Regions from separate parts of the Homo sapiens genome. Here region 2 is linked to region 1. Evidence: promoter capture Hi-C in 16 types of primary human blood cells and fetal thymus (Javierre and others, 2016). All regions are on one chromosome and are shown on one strand. Each heading gives the region's core, a stretch centred on a gene start or on the middle of the fragment in contact. The rest is flanking DNA. Distances are from core to core; before and after follow the strand shown. Region 1 holds the start of SPECC1 (sperm antigen with calponin homology and coiled-coil domains 1). Region 2 overlaps SPECC1 (sperm antigen with calponin homology and coiled-coil domains 1).

What was found. The method cuts DNA at HindIII sites, captures the fragments that hold promoters and counts their contacts. A CHiCAGO score of 5 or more calls a contact.
Region 2: a fragment that was not itself captured here is called in contact with the fragment with the promoter of SPECC1 in region 1 in 7 of 17 cell types (erythroblasts, M2 macrophages, monocytes and 4 more); the score reaches 7.8 in erythroblasts.

The regions. Positions count from the first base shown.
Region 1 is chr17:20,005,757-20,013,305 of GRCh38, reverse strand. SPECC1 (sperm antigen with calponin homology and coiled-coil domains 1) reads right to left here and starts at 3,947. Exons shown (of 15, transcript NM_001243439.2): 1 at 3,882-3,947. It overlaps SPECC1-DT (SPECC1 divergent transcript), which reads left to right and starts at 4,046. Exons shown (of 1, transcript NR_186461.1): 1 at 4,046-5,251. RefSeq lists silencers at 3,276-3,455, 3,476-4,145 and an enhancer at 4,578-5,145. The HindIII fragment of the contact is 26,343 bases long and covers 1-7,549 here.
Region 2 is chr17:20,280,340-20,287,888 of GRCh38, reverse strand. All of the region lies in intron 12 of SPECC1 (sperm antigen with calponin homology and coiled-coil domains 1), which reads right to left. Among named protein-coding and RNA genes, the nearest start is that of FAM106B, 130 kb to the left of the region's middle. RefSeq lists an enhancer at 5,866-6,366. The HindIII fragment of the contact is 795 bases long and covers 2,987-3,781 here.

The DNA.
Region 1 (7,549 bases), core at 2,698-5,197:
AATGGTTCAGCCTCTGCGGAAAACACTATGCTGGGTCATCAAAAAATTAAAAATAGAAGTACTACTTGATCCAACAATTCTACTTCTGGGTATATACCCAAATAACTGAAAGCAGGGTCTTGAAGAGATATTTGTACACCCATGATCATGGCAGCATTATTCATAATAGCTATGATGTGGAACCAACATAAATATCCTTTGATAAATATATGGATAAGCAAAATGTGGTGTATACATTCAATGGAATATTAATTAGCAATAAAAATGAAGAAAATTCTGACACATGCTACAACATGGATGAACCTTGAGGGCATTACATTAAATGAAATAAGCCAGTTATAAAAAGACAAATACTATATGAGGTACTATATTAGATACTCATGCAAGGTACCTAAAATAGGCAAATTCATAGAGACAAAAAGCAGAATGGTGGTTGCCAGGGGCTGCGGTAATGGATACAGAGCTTCAATTTTGTAAGATGAAAAAATTCTGGAGATTGGTTGCATAACAATGTGCACACACTTAACACTGGGGAACTGTAAACTTAAAAGTAGTAAATGGTAAAAATAAAAATAATAAATAATAAATTTTATGTTATTTTACCACAATATTTATTAAAAGACAAAGATTAACTAATTAAACAAAATCCAGCCATAAGCTAATGGTAAGAGTAACAATTAAAGAAGACACAGAAAATTGAAAATCAGTGACTAGAAAAAGATATTCCATATAAATGCTAACAAAAAGCAAGTACAGCAATATAAAGAGAATGAACAAAAAAAAAATTAAATAAGATGGCTCGTTTATTCCCAAAAGGTACAATTCACCAAGAAGATACAAGAATTGTGAACCTTTAAGCACATAAAACAGCTTCAAAAATACAACATTTAAAGAAAAATATATATTAAACATAGAAATAGTACAAAAACCCCTACAAGAATCATAATGGGAGTCTTCAATACAACTCTCCATATCAACAGGTCAAACAGAGAAAAAAAATAAGTTAAGGATGCAGAAAACCTGAATTACCATCAATAAACTTGAGATTAATATAGAACTGTATACCCAATATACTAAGAGTTCAGGGAACAGTCGTGACTGACAGTGGACTGCAAATTAATCTGTTCTTAATCTTTGTTTTTCTTTCAGCACTGTGGCAGAATAGAGATCCTAAAAACCTTCCAGCTACAAAACATCTTTTTAAAAATATAAAAAAATACAAAAATAACTCTGAAATCAATAGAAGACACATGGTGAAACCAAAATTCTAGAATACAGGGAGAATAAAGGCATTTTCAGATATTACAAAAACAGAAAATTGATCATTGCTGAAGTAATTTCTAAAGAATGTACTTGAGGGAGAAGAAAAATGTTCCAAAGAAAAGTATCTGTGATACAAGAAGGAATGGAAAGTGAAGAAATGGTAAACAGGTAGATAAAGCTAATAAATGTTGACCTAGAAAATAACAAAAACAATAGCAATAATGTCTCGTTGGAAGGGTTGAAGTAAAAATACAATTAAGGCCAAATGTGAGGTAAGTGGAATGAAAGAATTAGAAGTCCTTGCCTTGTTCACAGGACTGATTAAATAAATGAGCCAGGTTTTCCATTCAAACAGTTAAAACTTGAACAAAATAAACTCAAATTAAGTAGAAAGATAAAAAACAGAAATTAATGTCATAGAAAAATAAAAAATCAATAGAATTAATCAATAAATCCTGGTTAATAAAAGCTGGTTCTTTGAAAGGATTAATAAAATAATCATTAAGCAAGTCTGATCAAAAAAAAAGAGAAAAGGTACCAAAAAAAGTACTGTATCAGAAAGAGAACATACAGATACATACAGATATGTAAGAGTCTGTTTTCTTACACCAGAATACTATATACAACATTATGCTAGCATATATTAAATTTCAATAATGTTAATGATTTTCTAGGAAAACAGAAAATATTAAATTTACTTTGAAGAAACAGAAAAACTGAGAAAAATAAATGATCATGAAAAAAATGAAAAGGTAATTAAATACTGATATTAACTGCCTAAACAACACCAGCAGCAGCCCAGGCAGTCTGCAGTCAAGTTCTGCCAAACTTGAGGGAACAGATAATTCTTCTATTCCAGAGCATAGAAAATGATGGAAAGTTTCCCAATTTAATCAGAGAGGACAGCCTGATCCTTGTTATGAACACAGATAAAAATGGGGTAAACTATATGCCAAACTCAGATACCAAAACCCTAAATAAGATGCTAGCTTATTGATGTGAACAATCCAAAAGTGCATTTTAAATTAGCCCAGGGTTTTAGAGAAAGAAAATCTAGCAATGTGACCACCACTTATGTTAACAATTTTAAGACGAAAATCTACATGATCATATCAATGCATGCTACACAAAAGCATTTGGGCAAAAAACCCAACACCCACCCTTGACTTTTTAAACTCTTAGTAATTAGGCATAAACAGAAATGTACTTAATGTGATAGAATACACTCGGTGAAGATACAGAGGGAATGCTCCCTAAAACCAAGCCCAAGACAAAGATTCCTATTTAACCTCAATAGTCAACACTGCAGCGAGAGTAATCTATGGAAGACAAGGAAAAAAGTAAAAACATGAGAGACATCTGTTGTTTAACAGACAATAAGATCACCTACTTGGAAGAGGCAAACGAATCAAGCGAAAAACTATTAAAACTGAGACAGGCTTTAGTATGGAGGCTCAGCTTCAGCTGTAGTTTGGGCTACCAAATTCAACTCGCTTGCTTGGAGAGTTAATCCTGCAAAGCTAATTTCTGTTGAGGTATTAGGATTGACAAGCCTGTGCTCCTCCCTCCTCCCCCATCTTCAACACTGAAATAACACGGTGTTTGGAACTGGATAACAGAATCTTCCAAAAACAAAAATTGTCCTGAAGGGCTGACTTGTGCCCTTACTCAAAAAACACTTTATCTGCTGCCTGCAGCTCCTACAGTTGCTGGTGGATAAGCCTGCCAACCAGCTCGGCGTAATTCTTCCTGCAGAGGGCAAGGAAGAGCACTTTCACAGGAAAATTTTTTTCCGAACTGTATGCCGCTTATTACATAAACTTACGTGCTGGCAAATGGAGCTCCAGCAAAATAAGATATTCAGAGTCAAACTTCCTTAGGAAAAAAAAAAAAAAAAAGCAAGCACATAACACTAATTTCCTTGCATGGGCACTGGGGAAGGAGGTCGTTACTTCCGCACGCCCGCAGGTCCGCACCACCGGGAAACCCACGGGCACCGCGCGCTGCCCCCGGGCCTTCCAGGTGCACTGCGCCGCGGCGCCCCAGCTGACCCGGGATGCGCAGCCCTAGCCCTTCCCCTGTCACCCCGGCCAGGAAGGGGCGGGAGCGCGGCGGACGCCGAGGGCGAAGGGCTTCTCGGTCCTCTGCACCACGCAGCACCCCCAAGGCACAACAGGGAGGGTGCGGGAGGCTCCCGAGACCCAGGAGCCGGGGCCGGGCGTGCCCGCGCACCTGTCCCACTGCGGCGAGGGCTGGGGTCGCCTCCAGGGCCGCAGCTGTCGGGAGCCACCTGGCTCTCAGTCCCGGGTCCCTGCGACAACCCTCGGGCCCGGAGGGGAGGAGGCGGCCACCTGCCGCTGCCACCTGCGGCACCGGTCCCACCGCTCCGGGCCGGGCAGGACAGGCCAGGACGTCCCTCCTGGGCTGGGGACAGGACACGCGACGAGGGGACCGGGGCCCCCGCGGCGAAGACGCAGCACGCCTTCCCAGAAAGGCAGTCCCGTGCCCCCACGACGGACTGCCGGACCCCCGCGCTCGCCCGCCCATCCCTTCAGACCACGCGGCTGAGGCGCAAAGAGCCGGCCGGCGGGCGGGCTGGCGGCGCGGCTAGTACTCACCGGCCCCGCTGGCTCAGCGCCGCCGCAACCCCCAGCGGCCACGGCTCCGGGCGCTCACTGATGCTCAGGAGAGGGACCCGCGCTCCGCCGGCGCCTCCAGCCATCGCCGCCAGGGGGCGAGCGCGAGCCGCGCGGGGCTCGCTGGGAGATGTAGTACCCGGACCGCCGCCTGCGCCGTCCTCCTTCAGCCGGCGGCCGGGGGCCCCCTCTCTCCCAGCTCTCAGTGTCTCATCTCCCTATCTGCTCATCCTCTGGTCGCACATAATCGATGTTTGGGCGTCCCAAGCCAGATGTGGACCCCATTTCCGCACTCTACACTGGAGGTTTTCTAAGGGTGGTGCCCGGACCAGCAGCTTCAGCCTCATCTGGGAACTTGAGAAAATGCAGATTCTCCGTCCCACCCAGCCTATTCGGTTTTTCCTGCACTAAAACCATGAAGGTGGGGCCCAGCAGTCCACATTCTCGCAAGCCCGTCAAGTGATTCTGAGGCGCCCTCCAGTTTGAGAGCTATGCTCACGGCCTCACCTCCGCCCCGCAAGGAGCCCGGTCTTGCCTGTGGCGCTAGCCGCACACGGACACCTCATCCTGCGGGGCCCGCCCCCCCGCTGCACCCTCACCGCCCAACGCCTCCTCCGGGATGCAGCGGAGGCGCCTGGAAGTCGGCAAGGTCAACATCCCCCTCAGCATCTTCCCTACCCTCACGGCTCCTCCTCCAGGGGTGCCTCATGGCCAGGGGTTAGAAAGAGCCACTGTGTTTCTTGACATGGAAGTGGCCTAAGACCTTAATGAAAACTGCAGGAGTGGAATGACAGAACCTTTGGTCATACTTGAGGGCGTGAAGCTCAAATGAGGAGGAAGGAAAGGATCCAGGGAGAATAACCAACCCTGGCAAGTTGTGGCGCCCAGGTAGAGGGGCGAGCCTAGGCTAGCGGTTCTCGACCAGGGCCGGTGTTGCCCCTCCTCGCCGCCCCGCGTACATTTGGGGAGGTCTGGAGACATTTTTGGTTGTCATGATGCGGGAGTTGCTACTGTTGCCTAAGTGGGTAGACACGAGGGTGCTCCTCAACATCCTACCTGAAGGACAGGACTGCCCCACAAGGAAGAATGATCCGGCCCCAAATAAGAAACCCTGGGCTGGTCAGCAACAACCCCTTTGTTCTGAGAAGAGAGGAGGAAAGAATAAAAGAAGTGGGGTGAAGTTTTGGTTTGGTAGAGGAAACTTGAAGACATTTTCACTGGAAAGGAAGAGAGGAAGAGGAGGGAGATGTCTGTAAGGACGAGCAAACCGGGTGACAGCTGATTTCCTCATATTGAAGTAATGAGTCCTAGTTATAATAAATTCCTAATAAAAACCCAGTTTATCCCTGCAATAAACTTGTCTTTTTTTTTTAAATATACTGCTTGATTCTGTTTGCTAATATTTTATTTACAGGCTTTGCATTGATATGCAAAAATGAGATGGGCAATAATTTTCTTTTTGAATGTCTAATGTTGTTTGGTTTCAGAATCAATGTTATGCTCACATCATAAAAAATTTGGAACCGAGGCAGGAGGAGTGCTTGAGGCCAGAAGTTCGAGACCAGTCTAGGAAACACAGTGAGACCCCCCCATCTCTACAAAAAAAAAAAAAGAAAAAAAAATGGGCATGTTTGCTTTTTCCTTTTACTCTGAACAATTTAAGGAGCATTAAAATTATCTATTCTTTGAGGTTTGATCATTTCCCAGTTAAAAATGTTCCTCCCAGCCTGATGCTTTCTTTGGGGAGGGTAAATCTTTTAAGGCTAGAAAAGTTTCTTCTGTGGCAATTTTATTATTTACATTTTAAAAATTATTCTAGAGTTAATTTTGATAAAGCATGTATTTCTTAAAACAAATTATCCTTTTTTTCCAGATGTTCAAGTGTATTTGCATAAAGTTGAGGAAAGTAGTCTTTTGTGAATCTTTTAACTTCTCCCAAATATCTTATTTTGTGTATTTTTGCTTCTTTATTTTGTTAACTTTTAAAAGTGTATTTTTTTTTCAAAGAATCAGCTCTTAGGTTTATGTTTTTGGTTATACTGGAGCTTTTTTCTTCTTCTTTTTAAAATATTTTTTCTCCTTTATTTTTTAGACGTATTTTGATCTAACGTAATCGGAAGAAGGTAAATTAGAATCTTTTGTTACTATTGTGTTTTTATTTCTCCTTATTTCTCTGAAGTCCTGCTTTATAAATAGTACCATGTTATTTGTGCATAAATATTCATTTGTCTTATATTCTTGGGAATTTTCCCACTTCATCATAAAATGACCTTCCTTGTCTCATTTAATGTGTTCAAACTTTGCCCTGAATTTAACTTTGTCTGATATTTTACCATCCTGCTGAATTTTGTTTGTTACCCCAAACAACCTTTGCTGTTTTCGTCTTTTCTGAACCCTTTATTTTAGGTAATCCCTTGAATTAGAGCACTAAGTTTTGCTTTGTGATTAAATCTGAAAATCTTTATCTTGCCATAGATGAGTTGAGCCCTATTCATGTGACAGCTATATTATGCTGTTTCATAGCCCTTTTGGTCCTTTTTTCACTCTTGCATTGCATATTTTGTGTTTATTGTGTTTTGTGTTTCTTCTGATAATTTGGAAGGTTTGTATTTTTATTCAGGGAGTTGCCTTATAATCATACTCCGCAATACACATCGTCCTCAGTTTCTTCAGACTGTCTGTTAACTCCCTATTCTGAATAAAAATGACATTGTAATTTCCCTCTTTTTTCTTTACCCCTTTTCTTCTCCTCACCTAATGTAAATGATTTTATCCTTCTTTAGTATTTGCTTTTTTAATTAACTACATTTATAAATATCTTTATCACTTGATTTTTAAATCAGCTTTGAATGAGATATTTGGATTCCTAGATATAAAAGATGTTAATTATACCATTTCCACGTTAGTAGGTTTATAAAATCATACATTCTGCTGTGTAACCATAATCCCACGTTTGTTTTAGTTCCACTCCTACAGTTAAAAGATTCAGAAGTATTATTAACAGTTATTTTGCCATAGTTTTTTCCCCAACCCATTTTGTGGTAAGTTATGATCCTGCTTTAGTTTCTTAAGAATAATTTATAGAGCAGAGTGTGGTGGCTCACGTTTGTAATCCCAGCACTTTGGGAGACAAGAGGTAGAAGGATCGCTTGAAGCCAGCAGTTCAAGACCACCCTGAGCAACATAGTGAGACCTTGTCTCTACAAAAAATTTTAAAATTTAGCCAGACGTAGTGGCGTGTGCCTATAGTCCCAGCTACTCAGGAGGCTGAGGCAAGAGGATTGCTAGAGCCCAGAAGTTTGAGGCTGCAGTGACCTCTGATTGTGCCACTGCACCCCAGTCTGGGCAAGAAAGTGAGAACCTATCTCTTTAAAATAACAATAATAACTTATGAAAATTATATTCCCTGAGTTTTTCATGTTTAAAAATATTTGTTGCCTTTATCCTGTAAAAGTTTGAGTATAAATTCTTGGGTTATACTTTATTTATTGAAGAATGTATAAGTATTGTCTTCTAGAATTGAGTGTTGCTGTAATGAAACCAGAAGTCAGCCTGGTTTATTTTTCCTCAGAAATGAGGTAATTGCCGGCCGGACACCGTGGCTCATGCCTGTAATCCCAACACTTTGGGAGGCCGAGACAGGTGGATCA
Region 2 (7,549 bases), core at 2,135-4,634, 280 kb before region 1:
CTATGCAGCAAACCACCATGGCACACCTATGTAACAAACCTGCACATCCTGCACATGTACCCTGAAATTTTAAAATAAAAGTTGATTTAAAAAAAGAACTAAAATAATTAAATTTCTCAGAAATAAAACAAAAAAAAAAAGCTATGTGTACTTAGGCCTTACTCAGACATAAGGCCAAGCAGCAACCTGCAGAGCCCTGTGCACCTCAGAGGCTGCTCTGCTGCTGTGCTTACAACAAAAGTGGCTTCCTTTCCAGTAACTGGGGTGTGCTTTCATGAGCTCTAAGGTGTATTTTCAGGAACGAGGGGGTCAGTATCAATGTGGCACAACTGGTATCATTCACACTTTCCACATGGATGGAAGATGACTTGCAGAAAAGAGATGAATTGAGTTATGCTTTATCAGAGCTCTCAGTTCATTCAAAGCCATGTCATTTTTTTTTTTTTTTTTTTTTTTTTTTTTTTTGAGACGGAGTCTCGCTCTGTCGCCCAGGCCGGACTGCGGACTGCAGTGGCGCAATCTCGGCTCACTGCAAGCTCCGCTTCCCGGGTTCACGCCATTCTCCTGCCTCAGCCTCCCGAGTAGCTGGGACTACAGGCGCCCGCCACCGCGCCCGGCTAATTTTTTGTATTTTTCGTAGAGACGGGGTTTCACCTTGTTAGCCAGGATGGTCTCGATATCCTGACCTCATGATCCACCCGCCTCGGCCTCCCAAAGTGCTGGGATTACAGGCGTGAGCACCCGCGCCCGGCCAAAGCCATGTCATTTAAATTACTGTTCCCTTGCAGACCACGTACAGAGGCTATGAGCTATGCAGTGTGTTGCACCCTCATCAGCAGAGCCCAGGGGAGGCAGGGGAGGCTGCTGACGGCAGCCGATGGCCTAAGGAGTGCAAGGGGATCAGTCCTCCAGGAGCCAGGACTTTCTTGGGGCTAGCACAGTTTCCAGGAGCTCCTGCAGCCTGGGCCCTGGGGGCCAGTTCGTGGGGGTTGGAGGGAAGAGGCAGGCAGCAGCGATGGGATCATGCCATCATTCACCAGTCTCTTGGGGGCTGGTTTCCTGGACTGGAAAAGCATCCAGCCCTGGGCAGCCAGGAGCTAGGCAAGGTCTGTGGGTCCCAGGTAGGTGGGTTAAGATCCAGTCCCACTGCAGTGACCAGAGAGGTCAAGGAAGCCATGGCAGCAAGGTACTCGTGTGGGCAGGGCCAATATACTGGGCACCAGGCAGAAAAACAGCAGTTTGTGGGACATGGGTGGCCGGGCAAGTCCTAGGCACCCCAGGGAGCAAGCTGAGAACTCACTCCAGGACCTACCCCTGGATGGAGGTGAAAAGTCTCATTTTTGGCGAGGGGATGACTAGAGCTGGCACAGGCCTTAAAGTAGAGAGGGGTGAAATCTGGCTGAGCTGCTGCGCGACAGTCCTCAATGCTCACAGAAGCAGCCAAAACTAAGAAGAAACACAGACCACCCCAGGGATGTTAGTATGGTAAGGTCTTTTCCCAAGGACCACTCATCTGAGACTCAGAGGTTCATCAAAAGAACCATGAGAAGAAAATGAAAAGCAGCCCAGCAGGCATTCTGTAGGCTGTTACCTTCTGGTATTTTCCTTGATATTCATCCCTGAATAAAACGGACTAGGATCATTGTTATCCTTGAGTGGAAGCTGGTAACCAGGGGAACATGAAGAGGATTCTGGGGGGCTGAATGCTGTGCTTTCTAGACCTGGGTCACCTCGTGAGCATCCCCCATGCACATGTGTATGTTATACCTCAATTAAAAAGGAGGTCATGTGCGATGGCTCACAAATCCCAGCACTTTGGGAGGCCGAGGCAGGAGGTGCTTAAGCCCAAGAGCTCAAGACTAGCCTGGGCAACATGGCGGGACCCTGTCTCTACAAAAAATGTAAAAATTAGCCAGGCATGATAGTGCATGCCTATAATCCCAGCTACTGGGAAGGCTGAGGCAGGAGAATCACTTGAGCCTGGGGAGACTGGGGCTGCAGTGAGCCATGATCAAATCACTTCACTCCAACCTGGGTGGTAGAGCGAGACCCTATCAAAAAAAAAAAAAGGAAGGAAGGAAGAAAGAAAGGGAGGGAGGGAAGGGGAGAGAGAAGGAGGGAGGACAGGGAGGGGGAGGGAAGAAGGAAACAAGGAGGGAAGGACCCTGATTGTCTTAAGGGGCTAGAGTGTGGTGTCCACTCTGAACACTAACATTTGGAATTTATGTACAAGATTTTTGGGGAGGAAAAAGTGGAGCAAAAACAGAAAGAAACTTGCTGATTATTTTTACCCAGGGAAATGCTAGTTACTAATTACAAATTAACTTTTCCCAGGATATAAATACTTTAGCAATATTTCTGAGTGGAATATGGAACTTTTTGATGAAAGTCTTAGATGTTTAATAAAAGGGTAACAGTCCAACCATCTCCAAAACTGGTTATAGGTCTCTAGGAGGGTTTAGGAAAAAAAAAAAGTAAGATACAGAATTTTGTCCACCTCAATGAAGCAAAAGTCATTTGAGAAAAATGAAGACATTGAATTACACATGGGAAGGTAAAAATCTAATTTTAGTGCATATCCAAGAATATCTTCCCAGAGTGTTGAGGTTGTACTAAAGTTGCAGACGGGGGAATGTAGAGACAGCACTCATGAATAACGCAGCAGGACAGGGCAAAGCAAAACCACACAGCCTGCGCATTTGCTTCTAGAAGATGCTTTCGCTTGCCTTGGTTGCCTGGTTACTTGCCTTGCCTTGGTTATTAACATTTGGTAAAAAACATCAATCACTGGGGGGACAAGCTGCAGGGTACACACTGAATTGTGTACTGTGCTAAATTCAATCGAGGACACAGCTGGATTCCGTGGCTGCATTCCCAGTACTTCTTTACCTTCACCAAGGACCTCCAGGTGCCTCCATGAGGTGTCTGTGAATGAACTGACTCTGTGTACACTAACTGCAAAAGTCAAAAAGAAAAAAGCAAAGCTTCTTGGGAAAAAGGCAGGAGACTGATTAGAAAATGCTGTACATTCATTCTTGCAGGAACCAGCTGTCTCAGGCTCATGGTGATCTAAACAGTCTCACTCCCTGAATCTCTCTGGGGTTTTCCCAATTGGTCTTTATTATCACAGCTGTGGAATCAGATTGAGTTTTTAGTTTTTGGAAAGTTTAACAGTTTACAGATCACAGAGGATAAAAGCAGCTCATTCCTCACTGGAGCTCAGCATGTGCAATAAAAGCCCAGGGAGGATCACACTTACTTTGAAGGTCTGGTCAGAGAGGATACAAAGCAAATGCACACATAACATTTCATGTGAAATCTCAGCAAATGCAGCCTGTGCTCCTTCCCTGCCGTGCATTCAGTGTTCGGTCCTTGCCTGGGACAAGTGTACACACACATCCAGTTTTAGTACCTCTGTTCTGATCTCAGACTATCTGGTAAACCTCGAGTGGCCTCGTCCTGCACACGGACAGCACAACCCTTGGCCATGACTTGTGGAGACCTGCACATAGACTCCTGGGCCCCCTATCTTCACAGCATCCTCCTTTCTGATGCCCCATTCCATAAAATGTGCAGCTTTGGCTGCCCCTCTCTGATCACCGCCTCCTCAGCCAGTGGGGCTGCTGTGCTCTGCTCAGAGGCCAGCTCCCTGCACTGGGAAGTGGATATTGTTCCCAGGCAGAGAGCTGGTGAGCTGGCCATCACTGCAGGAGTTTCCCTTCTCCCAGGGATTAGTCTCGCATCGCTTGTTTCCTAGAGATGAGTTCCAGATGGCTAAGCTTAAAAACCAAAATTATAACATTATAAAAAGAAAAATATAGAAGAATAGGCTTATAATCCTGGGGAAAGAAAGCCATCTAAGGCACAAAATGCAAAAAGTATAAAGGAAAGGATTAAGAAATCTGACTTAAAGAAAGTTTCTATATGACAAAATTAAAACCAATATATGTATAGCAAACGACTAATACTCAAAATATATTCCTGTAATCAATAAGAAAGAGGACAGACATGGTAGCTCATGCCTATAATCCTAGCACTTTGAGAGGTTGAGGCAAGTGGATCGCTCGAGGCCAGGGGTTTGAGAACAGTCTGGGAAACATGGCGAAACCTCATCTCTACCAAAAAAATACAAAAATTAGCCAAATGTGGTGGCATGCAGCTGTAGTCCCAGCTACTTGGGAGGCTGAGGTGGGAGGACTGCTTGAGCTCAGGAGGCAGAGGTTGAGGTGAGCCAAGATCGTGCCACTACACTCCAGCCAGGGTGACAGAGCAAGACTCTGTCTCAAAGAAAAAGACAAACAACTCAAGTAAAAATTGGCAGAGAAATGAACCTGTAATGTACTGAAGAGGAAATACAAATAGTCTGAAATGTATGAAAAGATGTTCAGTCTCACCAGAAAATAAAAACGGTAAAATATCATTTTCACTCATCAAACTGGCAAAAATTAAAGACATTTAATTCATAAGGTTAATGAAGATGTTATTGTAATCCACTGTTTCGGGGTGGTTTGCTCTACAGCTACAGACAATCAGAATGCCTGAAGTGACTTCTTTTATATTTGCTGCAAAGGGCAAGTCACATCTCTGGCAGCGGAAAGCTACCTTTTGTCCCTCATGGAATAACTCTGGGATTCCTTGGAATGCCTTTCCATTTCTGCTCCTGTTCATATTATTGCTTTAATCTTTTTTGTTTGTTTGTTTTTCTAAGATAGGGTCTGGCTCTGCTGCCCAGGTTGGAGTGCAATAGTGTGATCAGGGCTCACTGTAGCCTCAATCTCCTGTGCTCAAGTGATCCTCCCACCTCAGCCTCCAGAGTAGCTGGGACTACAGGTGGAAGCCACCATGCCTGGCTAATTTTTTTTTTCATCTTTTCTTAGAGATGGGGTCTCACTATGTTGCCCAGGCTGGTCTTGAACTCCCGAGGTCAAGCAATCCTCCTGCCTCAGCCTCTGAAAGTGCTGGGATTACAGGCGTGAGCCACTGCACGCACCCAGCCAATTATTTATTTTTCTACTTTAGATTTTATATGGCTCATTATCTCCCAAATCAAATCTGACAACTTCTACTTATCTTTTAAGATTTAAAAAAATGCAGACCTCCTCAACCCGTTCAAGTCAGTGTCATTACTATTCTGAAACATGAGCTGCAGGGGCCATGCTCATGGCTGTTTCCACTGTGTCTTTGCTTCTGCAACGCTACGGTGGGCAGAATGACGTGTGAAGGGGGTCTCCTCTGCCGTGGCTTCATTGCACCTTTCCAGTCAGGCAGGGCAACCCACTTTCATCAGCACTCTTTCTCTAAACTTTTTTGGCTCTTCTTAGTTGCTTATTCTTCCAGGTGAATTTTTAATTACTTTGTTAAGTTCAAGAATAAAGAAAGTCTGTTGGGATTTTAATCGGAATTGCATTAAATTTAGAGACTAATTTGGAATAATTCACTTTTTAAATGTTCCTCCCACTCTTTTATCCACACTGAAAGCACCGAGGGTTTGAGACTGCGAAAATGGAGACAGCGGCCACGGTGAGCTGGTGCAGGAAGCAGCGCCCTTCCCTTTACTCCTCTGTGGACAAGAGCCTTCCTATGGCGAGAGGACGGCTGTGTCCCAGAGATGTTCAGGCAGATGCTGCACAGTCCCTCCCTGGAGACAGAATCACAGAAGATACACATCTCAGGAGCAGCTGGGGCCCTGTCTTTCTTGCTTCCTCCATTTTCACTTGACAAACACTCAGAAGTCCCCACCCACGGCGTTTCTTCCCCGAGGTTAACTGGCTTTGGCATTGTGACACAGGGTCTGGTTGCCTTGCAAGCATGGGCCTGCGGCCAACACCTCCTGCCCCCTGGCTGGGTCCACTTCCTCCAGCCCAACAGCAGTTCCACTGGCAGTGCTAGCCTCACACAGCACCCGAACGCAGGCGAAGCCCCGCGGCTCAGCAGGGGCCTCCCAGTTCTTCCTTGGCGTCCTGAGAACAGGTCTTCTCTGTGCCCTCACCTCGGATCCCAGATGATTCCCTGCCATCTTCTGACCCCTAGGACCATGCTCAGGCCTCTGGGGAAACACTTCCCTGGAATTTTCTTTCCTCTTCTGCCTTTCTGTTAAGTTGGCTACCTCATTTTCATTAATTCCACTCTTCCTCCTTGCTTGCTGCTTCTAAAAAAGGTCATGGTCATGCATAGCTCTGCTGGCTCCTCTCCTCCTGGAGTCACCCAGGCTCAGTGGACTAGCAGCCCCCTGAAGCCCCATTCTGCTCCTTGCTGAGTGTTTACCTGTGTCCAGCAGCTCCCTCAAGGAAATGTTGGAGAAATCTCCTCATGAGCCATCTGCACAACTCACTAGCGGTTCAGCCCTCGAGGCTGGGAGTAGAGTCCACACAAACATTTCCAAAGCCCTCCATGTGTGAGGCGCTGAGGAGTACACCGCAGGGAAGCATGGTCCTACCATGGTTCACCCATGCTGTGGTGCAGGCAGGCAGGACAGCCTGAGCCTGGGGTGTGCAGGAGGCAGGATGAACTCTGGGGCTTCAGGAAAGGGCGAGCCACTGCAAGATTCCTCATGGAGTTCTGGGAGCCCAGGAGACAAAAGTCTGGTTCTTTCTTTCTTTTATAGTAAGTCCTCACTTAATGTTGGGAGGTTCTTGGACACTGTAACATTAAGTGAAATGGTGACACGCTGTATAACAAAACCAGTTTCACCGCAGGCTAATTGACATGGGCCAGAGTTGAGTTCCCATGGCTTACAGCACATGGTTTCACCCAAAGCCGCCATTTCCAGGAACCGACCGGCCATGCTAAGAACTGAGCTGACATCAGATTGAATGAAGCCCCTGGCAAACGAGAATGTCCGATGCTCTAAAGAGGAACAAACCAAACCAAACTGTGACCCGCTCCTTCCTCCTCACACTAACGCAGCTGAATATGACTTTAGGAAAGTGACTCAACTTTTCTGCCTTAAGTTTCCTCATCTCTCAAATGAAGTGGCTAGATTAAATTAGTGGTTCTGAAATAAACAGTTATGAAACCCGTTCTTCCAATGATGCTTCTGCAGAAGGTTTTTTAAAAGTAGGGATTGCAAACCACAAAATCCGGTGATCTTTTCTTTAACATCCATCTGTCTATATTCTACCTTGCATTGCCCCATACGACAGCCACCAGCCCCATGTGGCTGTTTAAATTAGTTAAAATTAAATAATATCAAAATTCCATTTCTCAGTCACATTAGGAATCTTTTAAGTGCTCAGCAGCCACCTGTGGCTACAGGATTGGCCAGCACAGATATAGAACATTCCCATCATCACAGAGGGTTCTACAGGACAGTGCTGTCTTGCACTTATGCAAACATGCATGTGTATTTCCCCCTTTTATGCAGATGGTGGCATGTTCTGCACCCTTACCAAGATATATAGAGCTAGGTCCTTCACGACATCTGGATGAACAGTTTCAGTGTAGAGACCAAGGGACTGGATGCTGGGCCCAACAGCAGGAGTTCAGTCCCAGCTCTATCCCTTACTAGGGTGTGACTCTGAGCAGTCATGGAGCCTCTTGCTGCCTTAGT